4 separate regions of the Homo sapiens genome follow, and regions 1, 3 and 4 are each linked to region 2. Evidence: promoter capture Hi-C in human tissues and cell types (Jung and others, 2019). All regions are on one chromosome and are shown on one strand. Each heading gives the region's core, a stretch centred on a gene start or on the middle of the fragment in contact. The rest is flanking DNA. Distances are from core to core; before and after follow the strand shown. Region 1 overlaps LOC105379397 (a long non-coding RNA gene). Region 2 holds the start of POMK (protein O-mannose kinase). Region 3 has its middle 130 kb from the start of POTEA. Region 4 has its middle 230 kb from the start of POTEA.

Region 1 (2,700 bases), core at 181-2,680, 390 kb before region 2:
AGTCCATTTACATTTAAAGTTAATATTGTTATGTGTGAATTTGATCCTGCCATTATGATGTTAGCTGGTTATTTTGCTCATTAGTTCATGCAGTTTCTTCCTAGCATCGATGGTCTTTACATTTTGGCATGATTTTGCAGTGGCTGGTACCGGTTGTTCCTTTCCATGTTTAGTGCTTCCTTCAAGAGCACTTTTAGGACAGGCCTGGTGGTGACGAAATCTCTCAGCATTTGCTTGTCTGTAAAGTATTTTATTTCTCCTTCACTTATGAAGATTAGTTTGGCTGGATATGAAATTCTGGATTGAAAATTCTTTTCTTTAAGAATGTTGAATATTGGCCCCCACTCTCTTCTGGCTTGTAGAATTTCTGCTGAGAGATCCGCTGTTAGTCTGATGGGCTTCCCTTTGTGGGTAACCCGACCTATCTCCTTGGCTGCCTTTAACATTTTTTCCTTCATTTCAACTTTGGTGAATCTGACAATTATGTGTCTTGGAGTTGCTCTTCTCAAGGAGTATCTTTGCGGCATTCTCCGTATTTCCTGAATGTGAATGTTGGCCTGCCTTGCTAGATTGGGGAAGTTCTCCTGGATAATATTCTTCAGAGTGTTTTCCAACTTGGTTCCATTCTCTCCGTCACTTTCAGGTACACCAATCAGATGTAGATTTGGTCTTTTGACATAGTCCCATATTTCTTGGAGGCTTTGCTCGTTTCTTTTTATTGTTTTTTTCTCTAAACTTCCCTTCTCACTTCATTTCATTCATTTCATCTTCCATCGCTGATACCCTTTCTTCCAGTTGATTGCATTGGCTCCTGAGGCTTCTGCATTCTTCAGGTAGTTCTCGAGCCTTGGTTTTCAGCTCCATCAGCTCCTTTAAGCACTTCTCTGTATTGGTTATTCTAGTTATACATTCTCCTAAATTTTTTTCAAAGTTTTCAGCTTCTTTGCCTTTGATTTGAATGTCCTCCCGTAGCTTGGAGTAATTTGATCATCTGAAGCTTTCTTCTCTCAGCTCGTCAAAGTCATTCTCCGTCCAGATTTGTTCCATTGCTGGTGAGGAACTGCGTTCCTTTGGAGGTGGAGAGGCACTCTGCTTTTTAGAGTTTCCAGTTTTTCTGCTCTGTTTTTTCCCCATCTTTGTGGTTTTATCTACTTTTGGTCTTTGATGATGGTGATGTACAGATGGGTTTTTGGTGTGGATGTCCTTTCTGTTCGTTAGTTTTCCTTCTAACACACAAGACCCTCAGCTGCAGGTCTGTTGGAGTACCTGGCCAGATGTGTGAGATGTCAGTCTGCCCCTGCTGGGGGGTGCCTCCCAGTTAGGCTGCTCAGGGGTCAGGGGTCAGGTACCCACTTGAGGAGGCAGTCTGCCCATTCTCAGATCTCCAGCTGCATGCTGGGAAAACCACTGCTCTCTTCAAAGCTGTCAGACAGGGACACTTCTGTAGGTATCTTTAAAAAAAATAATTTCTCATTGGTGTTGCTGCACACTGACTAAGTCTTGCAGTTCTCATTCTCATTTGCTTATGGTATTAGAAAGGTATTGCTGAGTTTCCACTTTTAAAGATAGTTACTTTTTTAGTGACACAAACCTCAGTGTAATATAGCTAACCTTTGACCAACACAGGCTTGAACTGTAGGGGTCTACTACTCATATGCAGATTTTCTTCTACCTCTGTCACCTCAGACAGCAAGCCCAACCTCCCTCTTTCTCCTCTTCAGCCTATTCAACTTGAAGATTAAGGATGAAGACATTTATGATGATCCACTTCCACTTGATATTAATTATATTTTTTCTTCCCGACAGTTTCTTTTCTCCAGTTTATTGTACAAATACAACATACAATACTTATAACACACCAAATATCATCTTAACTGACTGTGTTACCAATAAGGCTTCTGGTCAACAGTAGGCTATTAGTAGTTAAGTTATGAGGGAAGTCAAAAGTTATACATAGATTTTTGGCTGCATGGAGGATTGGTACCCCTAAGTCCTACACTGTTCAAGGGTCAACTGTAATTAACATTCATTTGCTCAAAGCAAACCATTTATTTAAATAATTAAATAGAAGATTCAATTGTATAACAAGTCCAATTTGTTATCATGTGACCGTAAAAAAGATATACCATGTACTAACTTGTGTTTTTCTTATTTACATAAAAATATTATACAAGATTTTAGAGACCATAATTAAATTTTTCAGATATTTGAAATTATAAATCACCTAAAATGAAATTTTTAAATAATTCTGAAATCGAACCTACTCTCAAAAAAAATTGTAAAATATATACATGCAATTTATACACAGTGATTTTTCAAACTGTTTTTTTTTTGTGATAAAAACTTCCTTACTTTTACTTTCTTATCTATGGTAGGACCACCTAGCGCAGGGGTCCACAACTCCTGGGCAACAAACTGGTACCAGCCCATGGCCTGTTAGGAACCAGGCCACACAGCAAGAGGTGAGTGGCAGGTAAGCCAGCAAAGCTTTATCTGTATATACAGCCACACCCCATTTCTCCTATTCCCACTTGAGCTCCACCTCCTGTCAGATCAGAGGTAGAATTAGATACTCATTGGAGCATGAACCCTGCTATAAACTGTACATGCTAGGGATCTAGGTTGTGTGCTTCTTATGAGAATCCAATGCCTGATGATCTGTCACTTTCTCCCATTGCCTCCAGATGAGAACATCCAGTG
Region 2 (2,720 bases), core at 146-2,645:
GCCTGCACATTAAGGAATAAAGATGGTGGGGCAGGTTGGGCAGAAGAAATTCAGGCACGACTGAAATGCAAAGCATTTCTGACACTGATAGGAAGGCTTATTGATAGAGAAAGGCTTGGGACCCACTGCTCCACATTTACAGCTTAAAAAGAAAAGAAAAGCAAAGGGACAAAACTAGTTTTTACCGACTTACAAGATATTTTCTACAACTAGGGAAGACACAGAGTAATGTCATCCAATACAGTTTAGAGTAGAATTCCATTGCGCCAATAAAGCACAAGGTACATTAAGAGGATTATTTTAAATATTCTGAACGCTTATTTAGCCTTAAGGTTCTATAGCAAAGGCAAAGGGTGGCAAAGACAAGATTATGCAACAAAACAGCGAAATTTTGCTTTCTAAAAAAAAGAGAATATGATTACACTTAACACCTCCTGGCAACAATGATCTCGTGCAGAATAAACACCCAAAGGCAAAGAGCTGAGACAGAGTCCTCGGTCCTTTCTGGTTTTTTTGTTTTTTGTTTTGTTTTGGTTTGGTTTGGTTTTTGTTTTTTTAAACAGAGACAGCCTCTGCCGGACCCAGTAGCTCACGCCTGTAATCCCAGCACTTTGGGAGGCAGAGGCGGGCGGATCACCTGAGGTCAGGCGTTCGAGACCAGCCTGACCAACATGGGGAAACCCCGTTTCTACTAAAAATACAAAAATTAGCCGGGCGTGGTGGCGGACGCCTGTAATCCCAGGAGCCAAGACCGCGCCACTACACTCCAGCCTGGGCGACAGAGCGAGACTCCGTCTCAAATAATAATAATAATGATAAAGTAATAATAATAGAAACAGCCTCTCACTCTGGCCCCCAGGCTGAAGTGCAGTGGCGCGATTTCGGCTCACTGAAACCTCCGCCCCCGCCGGGTTCAAGCATTCTCCCGCCTCAGCCTCCGGAGTAGATAAGACTATAGGCGGCGCCACCGCGCCCGGCTAAGTGCTTTTTTACGGAGACAGAAGTTCCGCCATGTTGCCCAGGCTGCTCTCGCCTGAGCTCACGCGATCCTCCCGCCTCGGCCTCCCAAAGCGCTGGGATTACAGGCTGGAGCCACCTCGCCGGGCCCTTCTCTGGTTCTTTAACGTCCCGCTACCGCGCAGGGGTGGACGCGGAGATAGGGGCTGGGCGCGGTGGACACGGCCGCTCAGGCCCAGCGCAGCCTCCTAGGGAGCCTCCGGACAGGCCGCGGGCAGGCGGCCGGGGCTGCGGGGGGTGCGGCCCAGGCCACGTACAGGGTCCCCCGGGAAACCCAGCTGCACGCCCCCTCGCCCCTTCGCCCTCTCACCCCTCGCCGCAGCACCTACCTGCAGCCCAAGCCTCTGCGGCTCCTGCCACCCCGGGCCAGCACGCACTGGGCCTACTGCGCTTGCGCGTTCGGAAGCGCGTCCTGGGCGGGTGAGCGTGGCGCTGCTGCCCCCTGGCGTCCTCCTCCGGCCGTGCACTGAAGCCGGAGCGAACGCCGCGGCGGTACCAGCGCGCACCTACCCAGTCTCCCTGTCTGGCTTCTGCTTCCCTAACTTGGGAGAACGATTTTGTGTTGACCGACTATTGCTTCAGCCTGGAGCCAGGCTCATGCAGAGCAGCTGTCAGATCTAGACGCACTGCGAGGCCTTCCAAAGCGTAGTCCTCAGACCCGCGGCATCTGCAGGGACCTTGCTGGAAAGGCTGATTCCCAGCTCCGGCCCAGACCCGCCACTCGGGGACCCAGATGCCTGAAGTTGGACAATCGCTCTGTAAAAGAAACTGTGGGGCTTAGCCTAGACGCAGTAAAGCTGAGCTGCACACATCAAGCGCAGCAGACAAGACCTTGGCAAGCCTCCGCGGAGGGGCAGGACTGGGCAAAGGCGGGGAAGTCCGTCGAGGGCCGGCCAGGAGCCCTGCCGGGAGCCCAACACGCACTCGGGCGCTTGCTCCGGGAAACCGAAAGGGAGGCTTGCAGCATCGAAGTCAGCTGGGTCATGGAACGTCTAGGTTGTGTACATCGGAAGCGTTAGCTGCTTCTACACTGACACACTGCGAAAGTCCAGAATCAAGACAGTAACATGGTGTGGGTTAAAAAAACTGAGCCGGTACTAGCTATCCAAACAGTATTAAAATTAACAGAAACGTTTGCCTATCACATGGACAAACAGCGGTAATACCTCCTGTCGTTACAGTAGAGTCTGAAAGTTTCCTCACACATACAAGTGAGTGTAAATTGGAATTCCTCCTACGTGCCCTAGCAAATCCATTTCTAGGAATTTATCCTTCAGAAATAACGTCTGTGGCCGGGCGCCGTGGCTCATGCCTGTAATCCCAGGACTTTGGGAGGCCGAGGTGGGCGGATCACGAGGTCAGGAGACCGAGACCATCCTGGATAACACGGTGAAACCCCGTCTCTACTAAAAATACAAAAAATTAGCCGGGCATGGTGGCGGGCGTGAGAATGGCGTGAACCCGGGAGGCGGAGCTTGCAGTGAGCCGAGATCGCGCCACTGTACTCCAGCCTGGGTGACAGAGCGAGACTCCGTCTCAAAAAAAAAAAAAAAAAAAAAGAAAAAGAAATAATATGTCTGCAAGATGTATGCACAAGAGATCTTGCTGAAGCATTGCTGATAAAAGATATTTATAATAGAGAAAAAAAGAAACCTGAATGTATAACAATAGGGGTTTCTGAAAGAAATTATATTACATCCACA
Region 3 (2,700 bases), core at 189-2,688, 330 kb before region 2:
GGTGCATATATATATTTAGGATAGTTAGCTCTTCTTGTTGAATTGATCCCTTTACCATTATGTAATGGCCTTGTCTCTTTTGATCTTTGTTGGTTAAAGTCTGTTTTATCTGAGACTAGGATTGCAACTCCTGCCTCTTTTTGTTTTCCATTTGCTTGGTAGATCTTCCTCCATCCCTTTGTTTTGAGCCTATGTGTGTCTCTGCACGTGAGATGGGTTTCCTGAATACAGCACACTGATGGGTCTTGACTCTTTATCCAATTTGCCAGTCTGTGTCTTTTAATTGGAGCATTTAGCCCATTTATGTTTAAGGTTAGTATTGTTATGTGTGAATTTGATCCTGTCATTATGTTAGCTGTTTATTTTGGTCATTAGTTGATGCAGTTTCTTCCTAGCCTTTGATGGTCTTTACAATTTGGCATGTTTTTGCAGTGGCTGGTACAGGTTGTTCTATTCCATGTTTGGTGCTTCCTTCAGGAGCTCTTTTGGGCAGGCCTGGTGGTGACAAAATCTCTCACCATTTGCTTGTCTGTAAAGTATTTTATTTCTCCTTCACTTATGAAGCTTAGTTTGGCTGGATATGAAATTCTGGGTTGAAAATTCTTTTCTTTAAGAATATTGGCCCCCACTCTCTTCTGGCTTGTAGAGTTTCTGCTGAGAGATCAGTAAAGCTGGAACTTCACTTCTGTTCTATTTCCTATCTTAAATTGTATCCAGCCATATTACCTAATATATCCTTTCAAAGCTTCTGCAATGATATTAAATAATGACCGTAAGATAGTCCAATAATCGTATGTCACCACATATTGATACTCCAAAATTAAATATAATTTCCCTCTCATTAATAGTTTCCCAGGAATTATAATTAAATTCAAATATTAAAAGCTTTAAAAAATTCAAATTCTTAACCTTAAAATCCATAAAAGCTAAAGTCTGAAAAATTCCTGCTGTCTTTGTTGTGCAGTATGAATCCAAAGAAATTAATGTCTCAAATCCCAACTTAAATTCTAAACTTATTCTCTCCAACTTCTCATTCTCTTCAGTTTCAGTTAGATGAATTTTCTCCATATCTGCATTCTTTCAGCAGCTACAGCCTGACTCTTTCTCAGGAGTGGCTGCAGTTTCTTCAGGACCTCAGAAATTGTGTTTGTTCACTCCTAAGTCAACTCAGAAGCCTCATTTTTAAGGATCAAATGCATTACTAGAACATACAAAACTGAACATCATGTTTTCCGCACCCACACGTTTTAGAAAATAAAGCAATCCCATTTGCTAGTAATGTTATCGCAAACATAATTATGTTCTAGAACCTAGTATATACTGTTGTAAAGGTCATTATAGAAACTCAAAAGTATCTGAAAAAGAAATATTAGTTTCAACTTTACTAAATAGCTGATCAACTCACCCCTTTATAATAAAAACCCTCAATGAACTAAGCATCATACCTCAAAATATTAAGAGCCATCTGTGACAGACCTGCAGCTGACATCATAATGAAAAGACAAATTTAGAAACATTCCCTCTTAGAACTGGAATAAACAAGAATGTCCACTTACACCACTCCTATTCAATGTAGTACTGGAAATCCTAACCACAGCAATCAGCCAAGAGAAAGAAATAAAAGGCATCCAAATAGAAAAAGAAGTCAAACTATCTCTCTTCACTGAACATATAATTCTGTACATAGAAAACCCAAAGGATTTCTCCAAAAGACTCCTAGGCTTGACAAATGATGTGGTGAAGTTTCAGGATACAAAATCTACATATAAAAATCAGTATTATTTCCATACACCATCAACATTCAAGCTGAGAACCAAATCAAGAATGCAATCCCACTTATAGCCAAAACAAACAATAAAACAAATAAAAACCTAGGAATACATCTGCCCAAGGAGGTAAAAGATCTCTACAGGAGATGCTTGTCTGGGGTATATGAGCATTACCCTAAAAATCCATTAGAGTTGTACAGAAAAGTTCACAGCAGCATTATGCATAATTGCTAAAAAACTGAAACAATGTAATGCCCATCAACTGATGCATAAATGAATAAAATGTGGTATATATCCAAAACATATTCAGCTATAAAAAGAAATGAATATTGCTATGTGATACAATATAGATGAATCTTGAAAACACTGTGCTAATGGAAAGAAGCCAGTCACAAAAGGCTACATATAACGTGATTCAATTGACATGAACTATCCAGACTATGTAAATTTGTAGATGCAAAAAGCAGATTTCTGGTCATTAGGAGATGAGAGAAGGGAAAAATTGGGACTCACTGCTAATTGGTACAGGGTTTTTTTTGGGGGGGTGGCAGAAATACTCTAGAGTGAGACAATAGTGATGGTTGCACTACATAGTTAATATGCTGGAAATCACTGAATTCTACACTTTTAAACAGTGAATTTTACGTTATATAGATTATATCACATTAAAAAAAAAACCCTTACATTGAGAGAAACCTGTCATAAGAGATTAAATTTGACCATATGGGATTTATCATAACTATGGCACCAGAGTGGGTTAAAGGCTTATTCGCTTATCTTCTTTCCCAATTATTGTCATCTGAGATACTCCTGGCTTTTTAATCTCTAAAATTTGCAATGAAATCACCCCCCACCCCACTCACTGGGCATCAGGTACTACTGAGAAGTTCTTCCCATTCAGTATTTTCTCAGCCTTTTAGTCTCAATCTCC
Region 4 (2,700 bases), core at 99-2,598, 430 kb before region 2:
GACACAGACAGGACACCTCTTGAGCTTTGCTGCATAGAAGTTCATTCCACCCAGATACACCCTAAATCTTTACCCTCAGGATCAAAGATTCACATATCTTGAGGGCAGGGTCACCAGTCGGCTAAGTTCTTTGCTATGGTAAGACAAAAGTGACCTGGGCTTTTATTCCCAGTATAACTTCCTCATTTTCAACTGAGACCTTCTAAGCCTGGCCTTCACTATACATCTGTCAACCTTTTAATCATAATTATTTAAAACATTTCTACAATAGGTCCAACTTTCTGTCATGTCCCTATCTTCTTCAAAGCCCTCCAAACTCTCTGACCTTTGGCTGTTACCCACTTCTGAACCTGCTTCTACATTTTCAGCTAATTTAGTCACACCTGGCAATGTGGTAAAAGAAGAAAACCCCATTTTCAGGGAGAAAATTCAAGAAAGCTTCAGATCTTTGCATAAAAAAGGTAGGCCAATGCTAACAGGCAAGATAATGAAGAAAAGGCCTTGAAGGCATTTCATAGCTCCACTTTGCAGTACTAATTTTCTGTGTGATCATAAAGAAAAGAGGTTAAATTGGCTCTGGTTTCTGTAGGATGTAAAGGAAGCAGAGTGGCTTCTGTTTCTGGGAGGACCCAGGAAGCCTCCCAATCATACCAGAAGGCTGAGGAGCAATGAGATGTTTCAAATGGCAGGAGTAGGAGAAAGACAGAAAGAGGAAAGAGGTGCCACATGCTTTTATACAACCAGATCTCATGAGAACTATCATGAGGCCCACATCAAGAAGACGGTGGTTAACCATGGGTGAGGGATCTTCTCCCACACCCACCCACCACTGTTTTCAGGCAGAACCTGCTGCAGAGGCCGAGCCTCTTGGAAAACTGCTACTCGGGCACTGCAGAAGGAAAATATGGGCGTGGAGCCCCCACACAGGGGGCCACCATCCTCCAGACCCCAGATTCATAGACCCACCAACAGCTTGCACCCTCAATGTGAAAAAGCTACAGGCATTCAACACCAGCCCAGCCCATGAGAGCAGCCACGGGGGCTAAACCCTGTGAATCCACGGCACACTGCCCTAGTAGAGTTTTTCTATGAGGCTCTGTCTCTACAGCAGGCTACTCTGCTTCCTACTACCCTTCACCCTCCCACCACCCTACTGAAAACCTACTTTTCCCCACCCTACCCACCCCTTTTTCCTTGCACCCCCACCCCCCTCCCTTCCATTATTATATCACCTCCCACCAGGCCCTACCTCAAGCATTTGAGATTTCAATTCCACATGAGTTGTGGTAGGGACAAATACCCTAACCGTATTATTCTGACCTCGACCCTTCTGAATCTCATGTCCTTCTCACAGAGCAAAATACAATCATTTCTTTTCAAAAGTTTCCAAAAATCTTAACTGATTTCAGCATTAATTCAAATGTAAAAAGTTCATTGTCTCATATAAGATAAGGCTGCAAATGAGTCCCTGAATTTAAAAAGGAGTTCTTTTCTTCCAAGGTACAATGATGGTACAGGTATTGGGTAAGCTTTCTCAATCCAAAGGGAAGAAATTTCCCAGGAAAATAACACAAATGGGACCACAGGCCCAATGCAAGCCCAAAATCCAGCCAGCCACTATTCATTCAATCTTACAGCTCCAAAATCATCATGAGAATCACTATCATGAGGACAGCATGAAGGAGATGGTGTTTAACCATTTGTGAAGGATTCACACCACCCCGACCTTTCCCTCCCCCACCACCATAATCCCTGCCATTCTCCCAACCACCTCCCAACTTCCAACCCCCACTCTCATCCATGATTACATCACCTTCCACCAGGCCCCACTTTTAACATTCCCGATGACAATTCCATATGAGTTTTGGTAGGGACACAGAGCAAAATCATATTATTTTGCCCTGGCCCCCAATATCTCGTGTCCTCCTCACATTGCACAATACAATGTTGCCTTCCCTACAGTCCTCCAAATCTTAACCCTTTCCAGCATTTACATAATTGTTTATAGCTTAAAATCTCATCTGACACAGGCTACACTCCCTTCTGCCCATGAGCCTCTGAAATATAAAGCAAGTTATCTACTTCCAAGGTACAATGGTTGCACAGGCAATGGGTAAGCATTCCCAGCCAAAAGGAAGAATTTTGCCAGAAAGAACAAAAGCAGATGAGACTTACAGGCCTCATGAAATTCCAGAACACAGCAGTCAAGTCTTTCAATCCTACAGCTCCAAAATCATCCTTTTTGCTTCACTGTCCCAAATCCAGAGCACAGGGGTGTGAGGGCTGGGCTCCCAAGGCCTTGGGCAGACCTGCACCTGTGTCTTTGCACTGTTTAGTGACCATGGCTGCTCTCATGGGCTAGGCTGGTGTTGAGTGCCTGTAGCTTTTCCCCTCTAAGGGTACAAGCTGTTGGGGGTGTATGAATCTGAGGTTTTGAGAGTGGTGGCCTCCAGTGTGGAGGCTCCAACCCCATATTTTCCTTCTGCACTGCCCTAGTAGAGGTTTTCCATGAGGCTCTCCTCCTTTGGCAGTCTTCTGCCTGGACACCCAGGCATTTCCATACATCTTCCAAAATCTATACAAAGGCTCCAAAGCCTCTTGTCTCATGCTCTACACACCCGCTGGCTGAACACTATGTGGAAGCCACCAAAGCTTATAGCTTGCAGGCCCCAAAGCTGTGACCCAAGCTGTACATGTGCA

Evidence for each region. The method cuts DNA at HindIII sites, captures the fragments that hold promoters and counts their contacts. A contact is called where the count stands out against the background at its distance.
Region 1: a contact is called between a fragment that was not itself captured here and the fragment with the promoter of POMK in region 2, in 2 of the 25 tissues and cell types used here (dorsolateral prefrontal cortex and lymphoblastoid cells).
Region 3: a fragment that was not itself captured here is called in contact with the fragment with the promoter of POMK in region 2 in 1 of the 25 tissues and cell types used here (lymphoblastoid cells).
Region 4: a fragment that was not itself captured here is called in contact with the fragment with the promoter of POMK in region 2 in 2 of the 25 tissues and cell types used here (aorta and mesenchymal stem cells).

Annotation. Positions count from the first base shown.
Region 1 is chr8:43,487,202-43,489,901 of GRCh38, reverse strand. The region is part of intron 1 of LOC105379397 (a long non-coding RNA gene); the gene reads right to left. Among named protein-coding and RNA genes, the nearest start is that of POTEA, 200 kb to the right of the region's middle. The HindIII fragment of the contact is 3,474 bases long and covers 1-2,700 here.
Region 2 is chr8:43,092,190-43,094,909 of GRCh38, reverse strand. It overlaps POMK (protein O-mannose kinase), which reads right to left and starts at 1,395. Exons shown (of 5, transcript NM_032237.5): 1 at 1,347-1,395. RefSeq lists a silencer at 1,158-1,367 and enhancers at 619-1,524, 1,525-2,431. The HindIII fragment of the contact is 5,704 bases long and covers 1-2,720 here.
Region 3 is chr8:43,423,481-43,426,180 of GRCh38, reverse strand. No RefSeq gene overlaps it. Among named protein-coding and RNA genes, the nearest start is that of POTEA, 130 kb to the right of the region's middle. The HindIII fragment of the contact is 3,630 bases long and covers 1-2,700 here.
Region 4 is chr8:43,517,931-43,520,630 of GRCh38, reverse strand. No RefSeq gene overlaps it. Among named protein-coding and RNA genes, the nearest start is that of POTEA, 230 kb to the right of the region's middle. The HindIII fragment of the contact is 3,220 bases long and covers 1-2,700 here.